Regions from separate parts of the Homo sapiens genome. Here regions 1 and 3 are each linked to region 2. Evidence: promoter capture Hi-C in human tissues and cell types (Jung and others, 2019). All regions are on one chromosome and are shown on one strand. Each heading gives the region's core, a stretch centred on a gene start or on the middle of the fragment in contact. The rest is flanking DNA. Distances are from core to core; before and after follow the strand shown.

What was found. The method cuts DNA at HindIII sites, captures the fragments that hold promoters and counts their contacts. A contact is called where the count stands out against the background at its distance.
Region 1: a fragment that was not itself captured here is called in contact with the fragment with the promoter of EIF4A1 in region 2 in 1 of the 25 tissues and cell types used here (IMR-90 fibroblasts).
Region 3: the fragment with the promoter of CHD3 here is called in contact with the fragment with the promoter of EIF4A1 in region 2 in 1 of the 25 tissues and cell types used here (adrenal gland).

The regions. Positions count from the first base shown.
Region 1 is chr17:8,019,258-8,022,501 of GRCh38, forward strand. GUCY2D (guanylate cyclase 2D, retinal) reads left to right here. Exons shown (of 20, transcript NM_000180.4): 20 at 871-1,085. Among named protein-coding and RNA genes, the nearest start is that of ALOX15B, 18 kb to the right of the region's middle. The HindIII fragment of the contact is 6,779 bases long and covers 1-3,244 here.
Region 2 is chr17:7,571,473-7,574,798 of GRCh38, forward strand. It overlaps EIF4A1 (eukaryotic translation initiation factor 4A1), which reads left to right and starts at 1,353. Exons shown (of 11, transcript NM_001416.4): 1 at 1,353-1,392; 2 at 2,788-2,836; 3 at 3,074-3,206. The coding sequence starts at 1,370. It overlaps SENP3 (SUMO specific peptidase 3), which reads left to right. Exons shown (of 11, transcript NM_015670.6): 11 at 1-497. The coding sequence ends at 11. It overlaps SENP3-EIF4A1 (SENP3-EIF4A1 readthrough (NMD candidate)), which reads left to right. Exons shown (of 22, transcript NR_037926.1): 11 at 1-7; 12 at 812-1,392; 13 at 2,788-2,836; 14 at 3,074-3,206. It overlaps SNORA48 (small nucleolar RNA, H/ACA box 48), which reads left to right and starts at 3,241; the gene lies at 3,241-3,326. RefSeq lists enhancers at 691-750, 781-830, 851-910, 1,031-1,100, 1,607-2,362 and 2 more and silencers at 1,271-1,330, 1,341-1,400, 2,301-2,440. The HindIII fragment of the contact is 10,064 bases long and covers 1-3,326 here.
Region 3 is chr17:7,886,819-7,890,239 of GRCh38, forward strand. It overlaps CHD3 (chromodomain helicase DNA binding protein 3), which reads left to right and starts at 1,971. Exons shown (of 40, transcript NM_001005273.3): 1 at 1,971-2,282; 2 at 2,846-2,958. The coding sequence starts at 2,183. RefSeq lists a silencer at 834-993 and an enhancer at 2,403-2,972. The HindIII fragment of the contact is 8,044 bases long and covers 1-3,416 here.

The DNA.
Region 1 (3,244 bases), core at 401-2,900, 450 kb after region 2:
TCTCTCCCTGCCTGCAAGGGCCTGGAGTAGTTAATGGTGTGTGATTTCGGCTGCCTCAAGGAAGAGTCCAGGATTAGGTGCAGAGGGATTAGCTGGGACAGGCTTAGGCAGGGCTCCTCCCGGAAGCAGAGGCGGATGAGCCAGAGGGCAGACCCAGTTTAAGGTAGAAGTGGAGTGGGCAGGGCTGAGCCAGTTCCTTCCCACCTTCACTCAGCCTCCTTCCCAGGCTGGCCTCAAGCTCAAGTGACCAGATGTGATAGAAGAGCCCTGACCCCTCCCCAGCTAGAAGAACTTGGGGAACCCCCACCCCAGAGTTCACAGATCTAGTGGGAGAAGAGAAGGCAAAAGATGAAGCCTCAGCCTCCTCTCTGTGCCTCAGCCTCTCCTTTCTCTGTTCCTGCCTCCCTTTCTGCTCTATTCTCCTGTCTTTGTGTCCCCACAGTCCCCTTTCTGCCTGGCAGTCTCTGTCTGCCTTTCTCTGCAGTTTCCACCATTTCTCTGGAAATCTTATTTCCTGGACCCAGTCGGTTATCCAGTCTCAGGGCTCTGCTGACTCAAGTCCTCCCCACCCTGTTCCTGTGGCCTGGGCAACTCCCAGCGCATGAGAGCACCGGGGCCTGGCTTGGTCACTGGGCATCCCCCACCTTCAGATGTGTTTACACTACCTCTGCCAGCTGGCCTGCGCCAGGAGCCCACACTTGCGGTTGTCCTTGCCTTGGAGATGGCTCTGTAGCTGGCAGAGCAGTGATGGCCAAAGCAGGGACCTCTCATAGCTGCTGCTTCAATCCCACGGCAGAGACTCTACAGCGTGTCCCGGGGCTCACCTGGCGCCTTTTTTTTTTTTTTTTTTTTTTTTGTGCTTCTCCTTAGGGTCTGGGCCCTGCTCCCTGTCCCATCTGCAGTGGACCCCAGGCACCCCCCTTTGAGGAGGTGGGGTGAACTGCTCCTTGGCAGGGATTTGTGACACTGCATTGCTGGGCTGTGTTCCTCGGGCTCTTCTGGACCTTGCACCGTGGATACCAGGCCATGTGCCATGGTATTTGGGTCCTGGGAGGGTGGGTGAAATAAAGGCATGCTGTCTTCCATGTTGTGGTGTGTGCTGCTTTTAGCCAGGAGAGTAGTCTCGACACCCCCATCTCTGGAACGCTCAGCCCTGCCATTTCCAGGGAGGGTTTCAGATAGGGTTGAACCTTAGAGATGGCCTGAAGAGGGGAAGTGGCCGGGGCCAACAGCTCCCAGGAACTCCTCTGCTCAGAGAACCAGTTGGGGAAGTCTCGGGCCTCTCAGGCTGCTGGAAAAGACCAGGGTCTCTGACGCTTTTAAGGTGGGTGATGTGGCTTCATCCCTTGATTGTATGCAGGAGGGAAGAAGGAAGAGAAGGACAGAGCTTGTCTATGCCATGACTCCATGACCCATGGACCATAACCTACAAACATGGGAGCCAGAGTCCAAGACTGAAGGAACAGGGCCCCCAGATGGGAAAGGTGAGGTCCACTGGTCTCTGGGCAGGACCTCATCAACAACCCACACTCCACCTCTGACCCTTCACAAACCTGCCCCTGGAGCTTCAGAGCAGGAGAGACTATCCCAAAATCACCAGTGGGTGACTGGCCCCTAAGTCTTCCGGGAGCCCAGCTGTTCCCGTGCCAGGCCCAATGTCCCAGACAGGATGACCTGTAATGGACATCGACTGTGCTGCCTTCCTACATCCATCCTGCTGGGCAGTGGGCAGCCATCTGTGCCCCATTCTTAATCCCAGTGGAAGTGGCTAGAACTGACTGCTGACTTCCCCCTTCAGGCCAGCCCAATCATTCCGTTCCTCTGGCCTCAAAGACAGATGAGCTGGGCCAGGCTGATGAAGCTCGGTGCTGGGACGTTGTTTGAAGCCATGGGGAGAAATTGTCTTCTTGGGGGGTTGCTGAGAGGATGGGACATTGAGAGATCCTTGCCACCACAAAGACAGAGCTGAACTGGCAGATGGAGAGAGACAAAGTCCTGATGGCTACTGTCTGAGCTGGGATACCTCACTGGGCCTAAAGCCAAGTCCGGCTGTTTAAGCAACATGGGCCAGCAAATTATTTTCTTTGCTTAAGCCAGGTTGCGTTGGGTTCTTTCTTTTCTTTCTTTCTTCCTTTCTTTCCTTTCTCTTTTCTTTCTCTTCTTTCTTTTTCTCTCTCTCTCTCTCTCTCTCTCTCTTCTTCTTTCATACCTCAAAACCCTCACGATGGCTGGGCACAGTGGCTCATGCCTGTAATCCCAGCACTTGGGGTGGCTGAGGTAAGAGAATCACTAGAGCCTAGGAGTTCTAGACCAGCCTGGGCAACATAGCAAAATCTTGTCTCTACAAAACACAAAAATTAGCCAAGCATGGTGGTGCACACCTGCAGTCCCAGCTACTCCGGAGGCTGAGGCAGGATGATCACTTGAGCCCGGAAGGTCAAGGTTGCAGTGAGCTGAGATCACACCACTGCATTCCAGAGCGAGACTGTCACAAACAAACAAAAACCTTCGTGATGTTTTCACGGTGATGAAATGTTGGTCCATTTGATTACGATGTGCTGATGGCTGCAAGTTCAACAGGTGGCTTTCCCATCTACTCCACCTCCTCACCCAAACCACTATGCCAAGCAGACACCTATCCATAGCCACGCACTTTATGGCCTCGCCTCAACATCATTCCCTTTGTCTCTGGCCAGCATGTCATCTCCTAGGCCTCTCTCTCAGCCTTGATCACCCACTCCCAAGCTGCATGCCTCCATCGGCATATTCCTATTGCAACTATCAACCAGGGGCCGCTGAGGCCACAGGGGTTCTCCTGCATGGACTGGCTGGTCCTCAACCACAGTCCCTGGGGTCACCTCTCCCAGGGCTTAGCCTTTATCCAAGGATAAAGGGATGGGCACCCAGAGCTCCTGCCACACTCTCTTCCAGGGCAGAGGCGAGGGCAGGGTAGGTCGCGGCCCCAGTGGAAACAAGGCCTGAGGGACTGCATACCCAGCTTTGAAGGTCTGCCCTGGAAGGCCCCAGACTGCTTCAGGCTCTGAAAAGGCAATGAGGAGGGTCCAGTGCTGAGCTCTTATCCTCAATGATGCCAAGGGGTGGAAGCCTTTCTGGCGCTTGGAGAAGAGGCCCAGCCATGGGGTGGCTGAAATAGATGATCTCAGATTATCTCAAGACCAGAGCTGATCCCAGAAACTGGTCCTTCCCTGAGTAAATGCTTCCCAGAGAAGGCCAGAGGACATGC
Region 2 (3,326 bases), core at 103-2,602:
TCACTGTGTGAGCCTCGTACCCCAGACCCCAAGCCCATAAATGGGAAGGGAGACATGGGAGTCCCTTCCCAAGAAACTCCAGTTCCTTTCCTCTCTTGCCTCTTCCCACTCACTTCCCTTTGGTTTTTCATATTTAAATGTTTCAATTTCTGTATTTTTTTTTCTTTGAGAGAATACTTGTTGATTTCTGATGTGCAGGGGGTGGCTACAGAAAAGCCCCTTTCTTCCTCTGTTTGCAGGGGAGTGTGGCCCTGTGGCCTGGGTGGAGCAGTCATCCTCCCCCTTCCCCGTGCAGGGAGCAGGAAATCAGTGCTGGGGGTGGTGGGCGGACAATAGGATCACTGCCTGCCAGATCTTCAAACTTTTATATATATATATATATATATATATATATATATATATATATATATATATATATATATATATATATATATATAAAAATATATAAATGCCACGGTCCTGCTCTGGTCAATAAAGGATCCTTTGTTGATACGTAAGTGGTGGTCTTCCTTAAGGGGCTTCAAATTAGTGGATATGCTTAGCTCAGACCTTCCAGCCAGTCTCTTGAGACTAAAGGGTTCAGCTTTCCATCCCTGGCTCAGGCACTGCCAACACCTTGTCTTCACCCAAACAAATCCCCGAGATGGGAGCAGAGAGCAGGAAGGAGGGAAAGTAGATAAGCCTCAAGAATAAGGGCATCCGAGAGGGAAGCTGGGGAACTGGACACAAGGGACTGGGGAGGGGACCAACCAGGATTCATGATAGTACCCCAAAGCCCTTTACAGTTTTCTTCCATCCCTCCACCATCCAGCCAGGGGAATCCTCCCATCCCTACGATATCGCTGTTGATTCCTTCATCCCTGGCACACGTCCAGGCAGTGTCGAATCCATCTCTGCTACAGGGGAAAACAAATAACATTTGAGTCCAGTGGAGACCGGGAGCAGAAGTAAAGGGAAGTGATAACCCCCAGAGCCCGGAAGCCTCTGGAGGCTGAGACCTCGCCCCCCTTGCGTGATAGGGCCTACGGAGCCACATGACCAAGGCACTGTCGCCTCCGCACGTGTGAGAGTGCAGGGCCCCAAGATGGCTGCCAGGCCTCGAGGCCTGACTCTTCTATGTCACTTCCGTACCGGCGAGAAAGGCGGGCCCTCCAGCCAATGAGGCTGCGGGGCGGGCCTTCACCTTGATAGGCACTCGAGTTATCCAATGGTGCCTGCGGGCCGGAGCGACTAGGAACTAACGTCATGCCGAGTTGCTGAGCGCCGGCAGGCGGGGCCGGGGCGGCCAAACCAATGCGATGGCCGGGGCGGAGTCGGGCGCTCTATAAGTTGTCGATAGGCGGGCACTCCGCCCTAGTTTCTAAGGATCATGTCTGCGAGCCAGGATTCCCGGTAAGAAAGGCATTTGCAAGAGATTGTGGCTGCTTATTTTGCCGCCCCCTTCCGACGGGCCCGCCGGGGGTAGCTGAGAGGCCCACCAGGGTTGCGGGAGAAACCGAACCGGGTGGGGGGAGGGTCCGACTTGGAGGGGCGAGGGGGAAGACCCACGGCCGACGCGGCCACCAGGTCGAGGCGGAGGGTAGGGACAGCCCGGCTAGGGTCAGGCGTGCGAGGTCTGTTACGAGGCCTCGACCCGAGGCGGTGCCATGCGCGAAGCCCCGGCGCTGAGTGGCGAGACGGGGTCGCGACCTGGCGTGGGAAAGAAAGGTGGAGGCGGCCGCCACTATGTGTGGCCCAGAGCCGGCAGGTCCGGTTGCCTCCCTGTGCCGGGGGAGGGACGGCGCGCGGGGTTCCGGAGCATTCTGACGGTACCACTCGCGAGAGGCGGGGGTGCCTGGTCCTTAGATCCAGTCACTTCGTCGCGGCTAAAACACGGGTCGGGGAGAAGAAACCGGCCGTTCAGTGTGCTGGTTTTCTTGACGGCCAGGACTGAGCCTAACCCCGAGGAGCGGCCGCGTGAGGCACCAGGAGCCCACCCGGCGCCGGGCGGGCGGGTCCATTTTGCCGCACAAGCCGGGCTATTGGCAAACTGCGGATGGGCAGGTCCACCTTCCTTCGGGGGTGAGCGGCCTGAGGTATGGGAGGGCGACGCTACTTCGCGACGGGGGCGGGCGGGATGTGGATTGTTCATGGAGGGGTGGGAGACGCCGCCGGGTGGTCGAGGGAGCGAGCACATGGTGGCCTGAGGCGTTCCCCTCCCCCAGTCTGCTTCGCTTCTAAGTGTTGTGCAATCTCCCCCTTTGCTAGCTCGGCTTGGGCTCATTGTGCGCGAGGCCGCCACCGCCCGCGGCCTCCCACATCCGGGCAACGCGAGGGGGGGGCTTCGGCTGGAGGGAGTGGGGGAGGGCGCGGGCGGGATGACGTGGGGGGAAGGGGATGTCCTACCCTCCGATCTGGGAGGTGAAGGGCGGGACTTCCAGCGCGCTGGTGCTGCGGTGGGAGGTGCACGCGCTTGGGCTTTAAGCGGCTGGGTCGGGCCCACGTGGACCCGGCGGCAAGCACCACCTCTGGGCACCGTGAGCGCGGCGGCACGCCTGCCGGCCTGTCTTCAGAAAGGGTCACCCCCTTATGTCGGGGGTGGCCTGGCCTGAGCCGCTGCCTGCATGGGGCAAATGCCTCAGTTTTATAGAAACTCCTCCTTTGGGTATTTTTTGGGAGCTGGTGGGAGTTGGATCTGGGACAGCAGATTGATGGCATCATGCAGGCCACTCCTGACAGAGCCCGGCTGTCAGGATTTCTGAGTGCTTCGGTCGGGCAGGGGACAAAACTTATGCTTTAAACCAACAGATCCAGAGACAATGGCCCCGATGGGATGGAGCCCGAAGGCGTCATCGAGGTGAGACTGGAGAAATGGAATTCTGTCCTCCCCCATTACAACTTTCAGCCGTATAGAGTTAGAGTGGCCTCTTGATTGATTTCCCAGATCATCTAGAAGCAGCTGGTTTCCCTAAAGGGAGGAGGGTTGTAAGCTCTGAGGCTTTTGTTAGTAGGCACCAGATTCTGTTTGCTCGGAGACTACAGCTCAGCTCCACCTTTTCCATGACTCAAGCTTTAATTTCTTTGCATCCCCTAGAGTAACTGGAATGAGATTGTTGACAGCTTTGATGACATGAACCTCTCGGAGTCCCTTCTCCGTGGCATCTACGCGTATGGTTTTGAGAAGCCCTCTGCCATCCAGCAGCGAGCCATTCTACCTTGTATCAAGGGTGAGACCTCTCAGTCCCAGAAGACATTGTGGACTGTCCCTGACCTGGGTAGAGTGGCATCTGGTTGGTGATGCCCATCTCATATCAGCCAGGGACAAAGCAACTCCTTGTTCATCCCAG
Region 3 (3,421 bases), core at 721-3,220, 320 kb after region 2:
GGGTGGTGTGGGTCCCGGATCTGGGTACGTTGGGGAGAGAAGCGTGAAAGGATCCGAGGTTGAGATGGGTCTTTGTGTCAACCCGGCCTCCCCTTTCCCTCTTGGCTTTCTGAATAGACCAGAAGAGACGTCAGAGGCTGCTTACATTTTACAACTGAAATGAAAACCCACCTCCCCTCTCCCCCTGGGCAATTTTTATCTCCCTTTCAGCCCTCCAAGTCGAATGAGTGACCCAGATACACCCCCTCAGATGACTTTCGGAGGTAAAACTTCGGGAAATTATTTTTAGCACACTCATTATTTCTGTCTACCTAAGTGTGGGGAAAAGAACCCTCCTCTAAGGAAATTTGTTCAGGCTGCCCTCGCTCTTCCTTGTCTAGAGTATGCATTTGTGCACAGGAGAGATTTCCATTGTTTTCCATTCCGACTGCTTTGATTCTCACCATTTTGTTTTACATTCTTACTCAAGACCAATTTTATCCCTTCCCCCTCTCTCCAGTCTCCTTACATTGTTAAACGTTTAAAATAATAGCAGTCGTGTTGGTGGGGGAAGGGAGCAGGAAGCCAAAAACTCATTTCTTCTCCCTCCCCCTTCTGGCAAGTCGAGAGAAATAATATAACATAATATATAGATGTGATTCCTTGGGGGTGGGGGTGGGGAATGATTGTGGGTGGTGCGGAAAATTCTGGTAGTTTCTTTGCAAAAGGTCTGAAAATACAAACCCACCCCCTGCCTGCAGTACGCATGTGCAGCAGACCTATTATGGTGGTGCGTTGTGGGGGAGGGAGGGGAATTTGAGAAAAAATAAATATATGTGTGAGAGATTGATGGTGAGATTAGAAGAAGAGAGGGGCGGGCGGGAGGCGAGGCTTCGGCCGAGACTCCTCCCGCTTGCTCGGGCGGCCAGGCTCCGCCCTGCGCCCTCCGGCCCCCGCCTCTCTCCTCCCTGCCTCCCTGAGATCCGAGCCGGGGATGTGGGAGAGTCTGGGCTCCAGGCCAGCATTGAGTGGCTGCTGAGACCGAGGTTGGGACTTAGATTTGCTTTATTACCCTTCCTTGCTTTTCCTTGCCGTTCTCGCTTTGCCTCTCCCGCCACCGACGCCTGCCCAAGTTCGGGAACCTCCCGCTGGGGTGGGGAGTAGAGTGAACCGGCTTGTGCACCACCCCTGGCTGGTGGTGGCCGAGGCCGTGTCCCTGAACCTTAGCCAGTTGGCCTGCCCTTGCCACTGCCTCGGCAGCCTGCGTTTCCATGTTCAAGTCAACCGAAGTCCCTGGGGCCAGGGGGAGCCGGCTGCTGGGGCATGGCGCCTTCCTTGCTGACTTCCTATTACAGTCCCCATTCCGTTTCACACCCGGGCTCTGGCAGCCACCCCCCTGCACACACGCACACAGTCCTAGAGTGTCTTCCTGCACAAGGGGACACAGGATGCTGGAGTTAGCAGGAAAGGTGGCACTGAAGGAAGGCGAGGCAGCGACTCTGAGGCAGTGGAAACGGAGGCCTCTGGTGTTAATTGTGGCTAATTTTCCGTTGGCTGTTGAGGGAAGGAGAAAGGATTGTGTGTCCTAGAGCTAGGGGCTGGGCCAAGCCCAGGCTTTCCCATCTTGCATCGGCTGCCTCTCTCTGTACTAGACAGGTCTGGCTGGTTAGTCTAGTGCTTGGTAGGGGAGGGACGTGAACCAGAGCCCCAGGGCCCCAGGTCTGTGGGGCATCCTGTCTTCCTTTATGTGGGGTAACTCTCCGTTCCGTTCCCCAAGCCTTCACAGAGTGACACCTTCACAGATAATGGGGTGGGGGGCCTGGGGTCCTCTGGCAGAGACATCTGGGGAGAAAGCCAGGGACCTATCCCTGCTGAAGCAGGTACAGGCCATCCTCTGGATTTGTGGGCCTGAGAGTGTGTGTGGGTGTGGGTGCGCGCGTGCGCGCGCGTGCTTTTGAGAAGGCATATGCTGGGTGTGTCTGTCTGTGCCTATATCTTTGTTTGGGTCTCCCATACTGCGTATAGATGAATGGGTCAGGATATCTGGAACAAAATATGGAGGTGAAGGGTGAGATCGGGAAACAAAGGGTATGGCCCCCTAGTTCCCAAAGGGAGCAGGGAGATGGGAATAGAATTGAAGGTAGGTTTTAGGCTACTTGGGAGGAGGAATATTTAGGTAATTGTGGAGACTTTCTCCTGTGTGATGAAGGCGGCAGACACTGTGATCCTGTGGGCAAGAAGTAAAAATGACCAGCTGAGGATTTCTTTTCCTCCAGGACTGTGTTGGGGTGACAGGATGCCTGGTAATTATCCGAGGAAATGTAAATAGAGGCCTCCCTCTTGGCAAAAGGATGTCAGGGCCCCAGGGTGTTAGTGTGAGAACCCAGGTGTCCACCTTTGGCTCTCCCTCCCCAGCATCTGGCTTAGGGAGCTGCCAGCTTGTGTCTCCCCACTCCAAGTGCTGGGGTCAGGCCAGGCCAGCAGCTGGGCATGGCTTCCCCAGTTCCTGGGCAGGATGCCAGCTGGCGAAGTGAGGGGGAAGGCAGGAGGAGCCCTGGCGGTGACTGAAAGGACCTGCCACAGTCAGAGCCCATGGCCTGGAGCCTGGTCTCTTGTTAGTAGGAGGGGAGGGAGGGGAGTGGTTTGGCTGCTCTTCTCTTCTGACCCCTGACCTCCCATTCAGAACCAGAGCATCCCAGAGTACTCGAAACACTTTCTGTTTGCATCCAGTGAAGGGAGGCAGGGCTTGGAGGAGTTAATGCTTCCTAGAGAGTGGGAACTGCCGAGGTGGGGAAGGGGCAAGTTGAGGGGCCTCAGAGGCTGGAAACCTAGAGGCTTAGGTTTTCTGATGCTTTTTGCTTCAAAGATAAGGATGACATTCGGCTGCTGCCGTCAGCATTGGGTGTGAAGAAGAGAAAACGAGGACCCAAGAAGCAGAAGGAGAACAAGCCAGGAAAACCCCGAAAACGCAAGAAGCGTGTAAGTGTCAAGAATTCCTAACTCTGTGGCAAGGCTCAAGAGACCCATTCTCAGAGACCTACATTTTCTCTGGTCCTGATTACTGGTGTGGGGGTGGGGTTCTGAAGCCAGGGAGGCTTGATCCCCCGGGCCCCCCACTTCCCTGCCACTGTTGGCCTGTATCTCAGGGATCTGGGACCCTAACTTCATTCACTGCAACCTAGTGAAGAGCCTCGTTGTCAGTGTGTCCTCAGCAGCAAAGAGAAGCAGTTGAAAGCACAAGCTCTGGAAGACTGTATGAATTCAAGAGTCCAGCATTCCTCTGTCTAGGATACCAGGCCGTTTATTTGGCTCTCTGTGCCTTAGTTTCCTCATCTGTAAAAAGTAGATAAAGGCCGGTTGCAGTGGCTCACGCCTGTAATCCCAGCACTTTGGGAGGCTGAGCCGGGTAGATCATTTGAGGTCAGGAGTTCGCGACAAGCCT